3 separate regions of the Homo sapiens genome follow, and regions 1 and 2 are each linked to region 3. Evidence: promoter capture Hi-C in 16 types of primary human blood cells and fetal thymus (Javierre and others, 2016). All regions are on one chromosome and are shown on one strand. Each heading gives the region's core, a stretch centred on a gene start or on the middle of the fragment in contact. The rest is flanking DNA. Distances are from core to core; before and after follow the strand shown.

The links. Contacts are between HindIII fragments. The CHiCAGO score rates a contact against its expected background, and 5 or more counts as called.
Region 1: a contact is called between a fragment that was not itself captured here and the fragment with the promoter of CDK3 in region 3, in 6 of 17 cell types (endothelial precursors, erythroblasts, neutrophils and 3 more). The highest score is 12.8, in endothelial precursors.
Region 2: a contact is called between a fragment that was not itself captured here and the fragment with the promoter of CDK3 in region 3, in 2 of 17 cell types (erythroblasts and endothelial precursors). The highest score is 8.6, in erythroblasts.

The regions. Positions count from the first base shown.
Region 1 is chr17:75,908,932-75,912,258 of GRCh38, forward strand. It overlaps FBF1 (Fas binding factor 1), which reads right to left. Exons shown (of 30, transcript NM_001319193.2): 29 at 3,261-3,327; 30 at 643-1,875. The coding sequence ends at 1,792. Among named protein-coding and RNA genes, the nearest start is that of MRPL38, 5.7 kb to the left of the region's middle. RefSeq lists a silencer at 1,932-2,092. The HindIII fragment of the contact is 1,248 bases long and covers 938-2,185 here.
Region 2 is chr17:75,927,281-75,930,507 of GRCh38, forward strand. FBF1 (Fas binding factor 1) reads right to left here. Exons shown (of 30, transcript NM_001319193.2): 7 at 2,717-2,767; 8 at 796-913; 9 at 175-252. Among named protein-coding and RNA genes, the nearest start is that of FBF1, 12 kb to the right of the region's middle. The HindIII fragment of the contact is 1,427 bases long and covers 1,216-2,642 here.
Region 3 is chr17:75,999,127-76,002,260 of GRCh38, forward strand. CDK3 (cyclin dependent kinase 3) reads left to right here and starts at 1,729. Exons shown (of 8, transcript NM_001258.4): 1 at 1,729-1,841; 2 at 2,286-2,415; 3 at 2,748-2,825; 4 at 2,896-3,016; 5 at 3,122-3,134. The coding sequence starts at 2,300. TEN1 (TEN1 subunit of CST complex) reads left to right here. Exons shown (of 4, transcript NM_001113324.3): 4 at 1,015-1,460. The coding sequence ends at 1,136. TEN1-CDK3 (TEN1-CDK3 readthrough (NMD candidate)) reads left to right here. Exons shown (of 10, transcript NR_037709.1): 4 at 1,015-2,415; 5 at 2,748-2,825; 6 at 2,896-3,016; 7 at 3,122-3,134. LOC124904061 (a long non-coding RNA gene) reads right to left here and starts at 1,434. Exons shown (of 2, transcript XR_007065911.1): 1 at 679-1,434; 2 at 1-510. RefSeq lists an enhancer at 1,356-1,405 and a silencer at 1,536-1,615. The HindIII fragment of the contact is 39,600 bases long and covers 1-3,134 here.

The DNA of each region.
Region 1 (3,327 bases), core at 312-2,811, 90 kb before region 3:
TGATTTCAAGTGATCCACCCACCTTGGCCTCCCAAAGTGTTAGGACTACAGGCGTGAACCACCGTGCCTGGCCAATGGGTTTTCTAAAATACAAATATGGTTCAACCTTGTTTAAAATCTTCTAGTGAAGACCTGAAAATTTGCCCTCAGACAAATTTGCCCTGAAAAGTTGCACGTCTTTAACAAGATATGCAAAGCCCTCTCATTCTAACCTCTTCTCCCTACTCTGTCTTGAAGGCCATGCTCTCCCCCTGTGGGTCTCCCAGCACCGCCCTCCCCGATGTATGTGCTTGATCACCTGCAGGTCCTGCAGGTGGCTGCCTAGATACCAGCTGCCCCTGGGCCGACGTGCCCATCCTTAGACCCCCCCAGCTCTTTGCACAGGTCTGCCTCAGGACTGGTTGAGTCTCTTTTGTGGAGAATCAAATTTGAGACTTAACCAAGGCTTCCAATGGGGCATGTGATACTTCCCTCCTCAGTGTTGGTACCAGCCCCAGAAGCGCCTGAAAAGATCTTCCTCCCACACCAGCACCTACCAGGAGTGTAGCCTGCTCCTCTGGGAGGTAGGAGAGCGGGGTGGCTGACAGCGTGGAGCTTGGGGATTGGCCAGAGCAGAACTCAAATCCAGGCGCAGCTACTCACTGTCATTTCAGGCAGGTTATTTAATCTCCCCGGGCCTCAGTTTCTGCATGTTTGAAGCAGGGCTAATAGTACCCTTCTCCTGGCTGTGGTCCAGCTGCCAGGTGCCACCGCAGACCGCAGGTGCTGGAGGGGAGAGGCACGTGGCCAGAGGCGCCTGGTCCTGACCAATCTTATAGGCTGATCTTTTAATAAGAACATCTGCCTGTTCTTTGGGACTTGTCCAGCAAATAACAGGAAACATTTTCTAAGAAATAAGTATAAACTCCGATGAGCCATGGCAAAAGCAGTTTTTTTAAGCTTAGTCAAGTTGAAGCAGCGGGAGTGGAGGAGGATCAGAGAAACCTCTGTAGTTGTGATTGGTTCCTTGTCGCCTCCACTGCGTACCCGCTGAGCTGGGCTTTGGGCAGGTGAGCAGCACAGAGGCTTCCCTCCTCGTCCCTCCCCACACCCCACCATCGCCACAGCTCCCTCCGCCGCCGGTGGGGCACCCAGATGGGGAGGAAGCTGAGGAGGCCACTGTTCACCCAAACTGGTTGGTCCTTCGGGCAATGCTGGGAATAGGGTGGGGGCTCTGGGCAAGCCCAGGAGGAGGAGGGCCTGGCTGAGTTCCAGGAACATCTCACACCACAAGGGAGGATCTAGCTGGTGCCCTCCCTGTACTGTCAGGAGGCCAGAGGGCCCTTCTCCAGCTCATCAGGGAGGGAACTGCTCTGGCAGGGAGTAGGGAAGGCTGTTTGTGGCATCCCTCAAGAAAGCTCCTGCCTCAGAAGAGGCCCAGGCAAAAAGAGCCCACAACAGTCTACCTGTGGAGCAGGGGGAGCCCACAGAGCCCAGGGGGAGCCCACAGAGCCCAGTGAGAGCTGGGGGTCCTTGCTGCCAACTCAGACCCTCAGATCCAAGCCAATGGCTTTGGGGCAGGGCAGCCAAAGCCATGGTAAGATAGCCTACACCACAGAGCCCCAGAGGCAGGGGCTGCCCCGGGCTGGCACATTTGGAAAGGATGCACTTGCACCCTGTCCACGGAAGAGCTGTCATCAGGCCTCAAGCATCTCAGAATCCTCCCCAGGCACTGCCTCCATGGAGGCAGCCGGAGGAACAGGACAGTTCTGGGGTCCGAACCCTCTGTTGGGGAATCGGCTGGGGTCCCACTCAGGCTGAATGAGATGTCAAATTGTAGGACCCTTTCTTCAGGGTCTCCAGGAAGAACTGTTCATTCTCCAAGAAGTCACGGTCCTGCAAGGCAGGTTTGGATGGGCGGTCACCTTCCCTGAGCTGAGAGGGAGGTGGAGCCCTGGATGCTAGCTGAGCCAGCCGTCACTGAGGCCCCTCCCCACATCGTCCCTGACTCTGCCTGGCTCTGGGAGTCAGCAGGGGCCATGAAAGAGCCCAGGTATGGAGTGAGACAGACCACAGTCTCAATCCTGGCAAGGTTACTTGTTTGCTGTGGAACTTACGAGCACATGACTTCATGTCTCTAAGCCTCAGTTTCCTTGTCTGTAAACATTCCTTGTAGCCCTTCCTTGCAGGGCTGTGTGAGGGTAAAAGCTTAAAAAATACACAAAGCAGGCCAGGCACAGTGGCTCATGCCTGTAATCCTAGCTAATCCGCAGGCCAAGGGGGTAGGATCACTTGAGCCCAGGACTTTGAGACCAGCCGAGGCAACATCGTGAGACCCCATTTCTAAATATAAATAAATAAGTAAAATATAAACAAAGCCTTCGGCATTGAGGTTGGCACACAGGAAATGCTCCATAATGACAACTGTTATCATTATAGTTTTGTTTTGTTTAGTTTGAGACAAGTGCCTTGCTCTGTCACCCAAGCTGAAGTGCAGTGGTGTGAACACACCTGTAGCCTCGACCAGCTGGGCTCAAGCAATCCTCCCACCTCAGCCTCCCAAGTAGCTGGGACTATAGATATGCCCCACCATGCCCAGCTAATTTTTAAATTTTTAATATTTATTTTTTTGAGACAGAGTCTCGCTCTGTTGCCTGGAGTGCAGTGGCACCGTTGTGGCTCACTGCAGCCTCGACCTCCCGGGCTTAAGTGATCCTCTTACCTCAGCCTCCGGAGTAGCTGGGAGTACAGGTGTATGCCACCACGCTCAGCTATTTTTTTGTGGAGACGAGGTCTCACTATGTTGCCCAAGCTGGCCACGAACTCCTGGGCTCAAGTAATCCTCCCACCATAGCCTCCCAAAGTGCTGGGATTACAGGTGTGAGCCACGCACCTGGTCCTCTTTTTTTAGTTTTTCATTTTGTAGAGACGGTGTCTCAACATATTGCCCAGGCTGGTCTCAAACTCCTGGGCTCAAGTGATCCTCCTGCTTCAACCTCCCAAAGTGTTGGGATTACAGGTGTGAGCCACTGTGCCCAGCCTGTTATCATTATTGCTATAGGTTATCATGAGGTTTAACTGAGATGACATATGCAAATTGCTTTGCACAGAACCTGGCCTAGTGTGGAAGTCTGAGCATTGGCTCACTAAGCAAACTGCAGTTTTACTCCCCAGGAGCTGGGGTCACCCCTCCCCAGGGCTACCATGTGCTCCTCCCTGCCTCTGCCCTGAGCTGGAAGGACTCGTGAACACAAGGATCCCCAAGGCCAGGAGAGACTCACCTGCTCTGCCATGTGCCTCAGCAGTGCCAGCCTGGCATGGAGGTGCAAGGGGCTGGGGTCCAGGCCA
Region 2 (3,227 bases), core at 679-3,178, 72 kb before region 3:
CCCTAATATCTCAGCCAATACAATATAGCTGGTCCCGACATGAATTCACGAGGAAGTAAACCAGTGGCACCCATGTGACATAGGCAGCAGCTGGGCCTCGGGCCAGCAAGCATGCCTAGGCTGCTCCACTCCCAAACCAGAGTGTCCCAGAGGCATGACAGGAGCCTATGGTACCTTCAGAGGAAAACCTCCTGTTCTGATGCCCAGAGCTGCTGGGAGACGGAAGTGACTTCTTGGTGGGAATGGCACCCCCTGCAGGAAGCAGAAGACAAGGTCATGGGCCTGAGTCTCTCCTGGCCAAAGTCCTCCTCCCATATCATGGACTGGGGCCCCTGGGATGGGGTGCACTTCTTCCTGGGAAGCTGGGGGCTCATGGCCATGGGCACAGCCAAGGGAGGAGTCTCCAGTTCTGCCATGGGCTTCTGGCAGGGAAACGAGGTAGGAGCTACCTCTGCTTCCTCATCATGAGTCACTCCAGAGACATGGGTTCAGGAGAGGCACAGGCTGCCATAGAGTTCTCCATTTTAACTCACACAGCTTCTCCAGGAGCTGCCCATGTTGGACCCAGAGGGCCTGGAACAGCTCGAGGAAGGGAGGAAACTCAAGCTGTCCCCTTACCCCACCACACACACTCAAACACACACACGCACAAATGCTCCTTGGCCTCTCCATCCTGTGCAGAGAAAACCCAAGGACATGAACGCTTCCTACTAGCATCTTCCACGTCCTCAAAGTCTCCCTAGCAGATGCGAGGAGCCGTCTCCCATGCACCTTTCTCACTGGCTACTGACCCACCTGCAGGCTTGGGGTGGTTGGGCAGCTCTCCTTTCCCAGGGTCCTTTGCAGCTTTTTTGCTAGGGGCTGAATTAGATTTCTTCAGACCTAAGATATCAGCATCCATGCCGTCCAGGTCCTAGAAAACCAGGGAGGGAGGGCAGAGGACTATGTCTGATAAGGGGCTGAGGACTTCCACCTGAGAGAGATGGGCTGTTGGCACCCCAGGTGTAGAATTGTGAGAAAACAAAGGAAAATGAGAAAACTGTTGAGAAAAACAGTGAGTGAAGAAAGAAAATGGAACTAAAGGTAAGCAGGGGGAGGTGGAATGGAGTCCAGCTCATGGTTCTGGGATGAGAGACTCAAAGTCAGCACCAAAAATTGAGTCAGAGGACTTGTGGGTTATGCCCAGGGATCCTAGGTGGCTGGTCTCGGGAAAAAAGCTTTCTTTTTTTTCTTTTTTTAGACAGGATATTGGCCGGGCGCGGTGGCTCATGCCTAGAATCCCAGCACTTTGGGCCGAGGCAGGTGGATCACCAGGTCAAGAAATCGAGACCATCCTGGCCAACATGATGAAACCCTGTCTCTACAAAAAATACAAAAATTAGTTGGGTGTGGTGGTGCACGCCTGTAATCCCAGCTACTTGGGAGGCTGAGGTAGGAGAATCGCTTGAACCTGGGAGGTGGAGGTTGCAGTGAGCCGAGATCATGCCACTGCACTCCAGCCTAGGCAACAGAGCAAGACTCCGTCTCAAAAAAATAAAAATAAATTAAAAATAAAATAAAATAAAGACAGAGTCTCACTCTGTCACCCAGGCTGGAGTGAAGTGGTGCGATCATAGCTCATTGCAGCCTCCAACTTCTGAGCTCAAGTGATCCACCTGCCATGGCCTCCCAAAGTGCTGGCATTACAGGAGTAAGCCACCATGCCAGACTTTTTTTTTTTTTTTGAAGACAGAGTCTCACTCTGTCACCACCCAGGCTGTAGTGCAGTGGTGTGATCATAGCTCATTGCAGCCTCCAACTCCTAGGCTCAAGCGAGCCTACTGCCTCGGCCTCCCAAAGTTCTGGGATTACAGGTGCCTGGCCTTTGAGGAGAAAGATTTCAAGATGAGATTAAAGAAGCTGAATCTGGACCGGGTGTGGTGCCTCATGCCTGTAATTACAGTATTTTGGGAGGCCAAGGTAAGAGAATCGCTTAAGGCCAGGAGTTTAAGGTTGCAATGAGATCACACCACTGCACTCCAGCCTGGGTGATAGAATGCGATGGTGTCTCTAAAAAAAAACCCAAAAAACAAAAATACACAACAAAAACAAGAGCCCCACAGGGCTGTAACCAAAAACGCGGCTTTGTCCTAGGGACTGTGGCAAAATGGGTTAACTAAAAGGGACACAAAACCCCAAGGGTCAGACAGGAAGGTGCTGCTGGCTGGAAGGAGAGGGAGAACAAGGTGTCTTAGGCCAAGCTAGAGATTATGTCCTTACAAATTATTCAGAATCTGTGCCTTAAAAATCCATTGCAAAGATTGGCGCTGGGCTTGATCTGATGAGAAGACAGCAGTATTGAAGGGGGCTTGGCAGGGGATGTGGAGAGAAATATGGAGAAAGATTAAGAACAAGCATTAGAGGAAAGAGTCTCCCCCTCTGTCTTCTAGGTGGAGGTGAGGGGACCCAGCTAGGTGGGCCTCCGAGTAGAGCTGGCCCCGTTTCCCCAGAGGCCTGTGGCACTCTCCACTCTCTATATACCAGGAACACTGGTTGATACTCAGAAAGGCAAGGAGGCCAACGGCTCACAGACGAGTTCCATGCTTGCACGAGGAAGGGCTCAGAAACACAGGTTGTAAAGGGAGAAATTAGAAGGAGAATGAAGCTTTGGTACAAAATATCATGACCCCACCCCACCCACCCCCAGTTCTAAGAATCGTGCAAGCTGTTTCCTTACCTTCATGGCCTGGAGCAGAGCCTGTGGGTCTGCCTCTGAGATACCTGAAACCTAAGTCCACAATGAGGGTGAGGACACAGATGAGGAGGCACATTAGTCAAGGCCCAATAAAACTCAGGGTCCTGGCCCCTTGCTTCTGTTAGGGCAGACGGCGCGGCAGGAGCAGAGCTTGGCCAATGGAGCTTACACAGGAGGGTGGCTTTGTTCCCCTTGCTTGGGCTTGGCAGTTGTTTGAAGCCAAACCTGCCTGGTTTTAGAGACTCAGAGAGCACTGCCATTCCTACTCCTTCCAACCATAGAGAACTCTTCCATCCAGGACTGAAATTCTGCTACTTCCCACCCATGCCAATGGACAGCTATGGAGTTTATAAGGGGAAAGGAGCAACATCTAAGACTCTAGCAGTTTCAGGGAGCTCTCCTTTCCACTCATCTTACTACAGGAAAGAGGATTCTGCTTTGGGTCCACTCGGCAGCCCTTGGGCATTATTTACAGTGGCTCACGCCTGTAATC
Region 3 (3,134 bases), core at 479-2,978:
CTTGACCCCAGGAGTTTGAAACCAGCCTGGGCAACATGGCGAGACCCCATCTCTACAAGAAATACAAAAATTAGCTGGGTGTGGTGGTGCGTCCCTGTAGTCCCAGCTCCTCAGGAAGCTGAGATGATCACCTGAGCCTGGGAGGTGGAGGCTACATTGAGCCATGATTGAGCCACTGCATTCCAGCCCAAGTGACAGAGCAACACCCTGTCTCAAAAAAAAAATTTTTTTTTTTAGGTGGAGTCTTGCTCTGTTGCCCAGGCTGGAGTGCAGTGGCGTGATCTTGGCTCACTGCAACCTCCACCTCCTGGGTTCAAGCAATTCTCCTGCCTCAGCCTTCCAAGTAGCTGGGATTACAGGCATGCACCACTACACGCGGCTAATTTTTGTATTTTTAGTAGAGATGGGGTTTCATCATGTTGGCCAGGCTGGTCTTGAACTCCTGACCTCAAGTGTTCCACATGCCTTGGCCTCCCAAAGTGCTGAGATTACAGGTGTGAGCCAGTTCACCTGTCAAAAGAAAGAAAATTTTTAAAAAGTCTCTCGGAGATGTCTTTCCTGTTTGGTGCCACCTGAATAGTGGCAAACCTTTCCATTATGTATCAGGTCACCACCGCATCTGCTAGAAGCCCCCCTCGTCCAGGGTGGGATGACCTGCTCCTATAAAGCCAAACTTACCGGGAGCTCAGTCTCTTGGATTTTTAAAATATGGGTGTCTCTTTTCCCCGGTTCCTGATGACATTGTGTCCCAAGGTGCCAAGGGGGCCTTTCCCTCAGTCCAGAGGGGTTTTCTGACCACCTGCTAAGTTCCAGACACGGGCCGACTGTGCATGACAGGCCCACGGTTCTAGGCCCAAATACTCAGTTGCCTTTGCCCCATATGCTGTTATTGTCCACATCACTTGCTGCCAAAACCCAGGACTGAGCTGTGGAGGGAACAGCTGGAATGCACCTTGGAGGACGTTGTTGACACGCCGCTCAGTCGCCGTTCGTGCCCTGGTGTTTGTCTTGCAGACAGAGGCTCCGTGGTGAAGGCGCGCGTGCTGACCTGTGTGGAGGGGATGAACCTGCCCTTGTTGGAACAAGCCATCCGGGAGCAGAGACTGTACAAGCAGGAGCGGGGCGGCAGCCAGTAGGAAACAGCAGCCTAGCAACACCCTCACCTGCTTCAGAGCCCGAACCCTCTGGAGCTGCAGGAGCCCGGGAGAGCACAGACGCCTCCCCAGCGACGGCCTTGTCTGGAGCTCGAAAGCCGAGGGGCGGGTGATGAATCCAGCCCCTTCCCCTACTTTGGGATTGGCTCAGCAATGAGAACCCAGAAAGCATGCCATAAATCCGACAGCCCCACCCCAGGAGACTGCAGGTGGCCGAGCTTGGGCGCCGGGGCCGTGCTTGGTGTGGGGCCATGGAGGGTTCCAGAAGGTCCTGGTGAATAAAGGCCCAGGGGGCGTGCTCTTGAAGTGTGCTCGTGGTGCAGCGCCGGCGGGGGCCAGGAGGGGGAGCTGCAACCCAGGCTGTGGGCTGCAGCCTCTCAGGGCTTCTGGTGAATTCTGGGCCTGGGGCCTCAGGGTAGGGCACCAGGGGCCCAGGGGCTGGGGTGGGGGGCCCAGGATGCAGGGGTCTGCCCCTGGCCAGGCTCTGCCTTCAGAGGAGGCTGAGCGTCGTCACACGGGCCGGGCTGAGGCCCTGGGCCCTGACCGTGCAGCCTAAGACAGGACTGTGGCTTTAAGACCCTCCTGACCCCTGACCTCTGCCCCCAGTGGCCCTGGCCCCTGGGCAGCCCTTCCTGGCCGCCATGTGTACCCAGAGCCTGGGACTGGCTGGGCTGGGCAGTGACCCAGGTGGGAAAGGGTGGTCTTGCCCTCTAAGGCCCGGCACAAGTGAGAGGCCTGGGGGTCCATGTTGGGCTGGGCTGGGCGAGGGGTGGTCTCTGACTTCCTGGGGGTTCTGGCTGGGATGGGCAGGGGGCTGGGTGGGAGAGTGTGGGCCCTGCCCTCCGAGGCCGGGCATGGGCGAGAAGCCTGGGGGTCCTGGCTGAACTGGGCTGGGTGAAGGGGGCCCCCTGACCCCCTTGGGGTCCGGGCTGGGCTGGGTGAGGGGCGGTTTCCGACCCCCAGCCAGGTTCCCAGGCAGGATGAGCTGGGGTTGGGGTGGCTAGGCCGTGGGCCTTGGGAGCTGGGCAGTCTGGGCTGGGCTGGGCTGGGCAGGGCGCCACATGGAAGCTGGAGGAGCAACGGGAGCGCTGGGCGTGGGGTGCAAATTGCCCGGTGCCTTCTGTTTCCCAGGCAGCTCTGTGGCCATGGATATGTTCCAGAAGGTAGAGAAGATCGGAGAGGGCACCTATGGGGTGGTGTACAAGGCCAAGAACAGGGAGACAGGGCAGCTGGTGGCCCTGAAGAAGATCAGACTGGATTTGTGAGTGCTGGGACGGCCCCTGAGTTACCCACCCTGGGCCATCACAACCTGGGCGCTCCCTGATCCGTTCCCTCTTTCCTGGAGTCCACGTTTAACTCCTCTGGGTGCTGCCCAGCAGCCCTTACCTGTCCTCTCCCCAGTTCACTGCCTTCTGACCAGCCTTTGCCGGGGCCCTGACTGTGGAGTTTGGTGGATGACGTGCCAAGGAGCACAGGTCTCCATTGCCGGGGCCCTGGTCATTCTGTGGGGTTAAGGAGAAGCCGATCCCCCTGGCTGGAAGTGCCCTTCTTGGCCCAAGTCTCTGCCCACGGCTGTGCCCTTGTTTCTTGCAGGGAGATGGAGGGGGTCCCAAGCACTGCCATCAGGGAGATCTCGCTGCTCAAGGAACTGAAGCACCCCAACATCGTCCGGTGAGTTGGGGATTGAGGTGGGGAAGCTGGGATGGCGAAGGTAGCATCCTGACTGCCATCTCCCTGTCAGACTGCTGGACGTGGTGCACAACGAGAGGAAGCTCTATCTGGTGTTTGAGTTCCTCAGCCAGGACCTGAAGAAGTACATGGACTCCACCCCAGGCTCAGAGCTCCCCCTGCACCTCATCAAGGTAGGGAAGGAAGGGCAGGGAAGGAGAGGTGACACCCCATCCCTGCCATCCCTGTCCACGCAGCACCTCCGCTCAGCTGGCTGCACCTCGCGCTCGTTTCTCCAGAGCTACCTCTTCC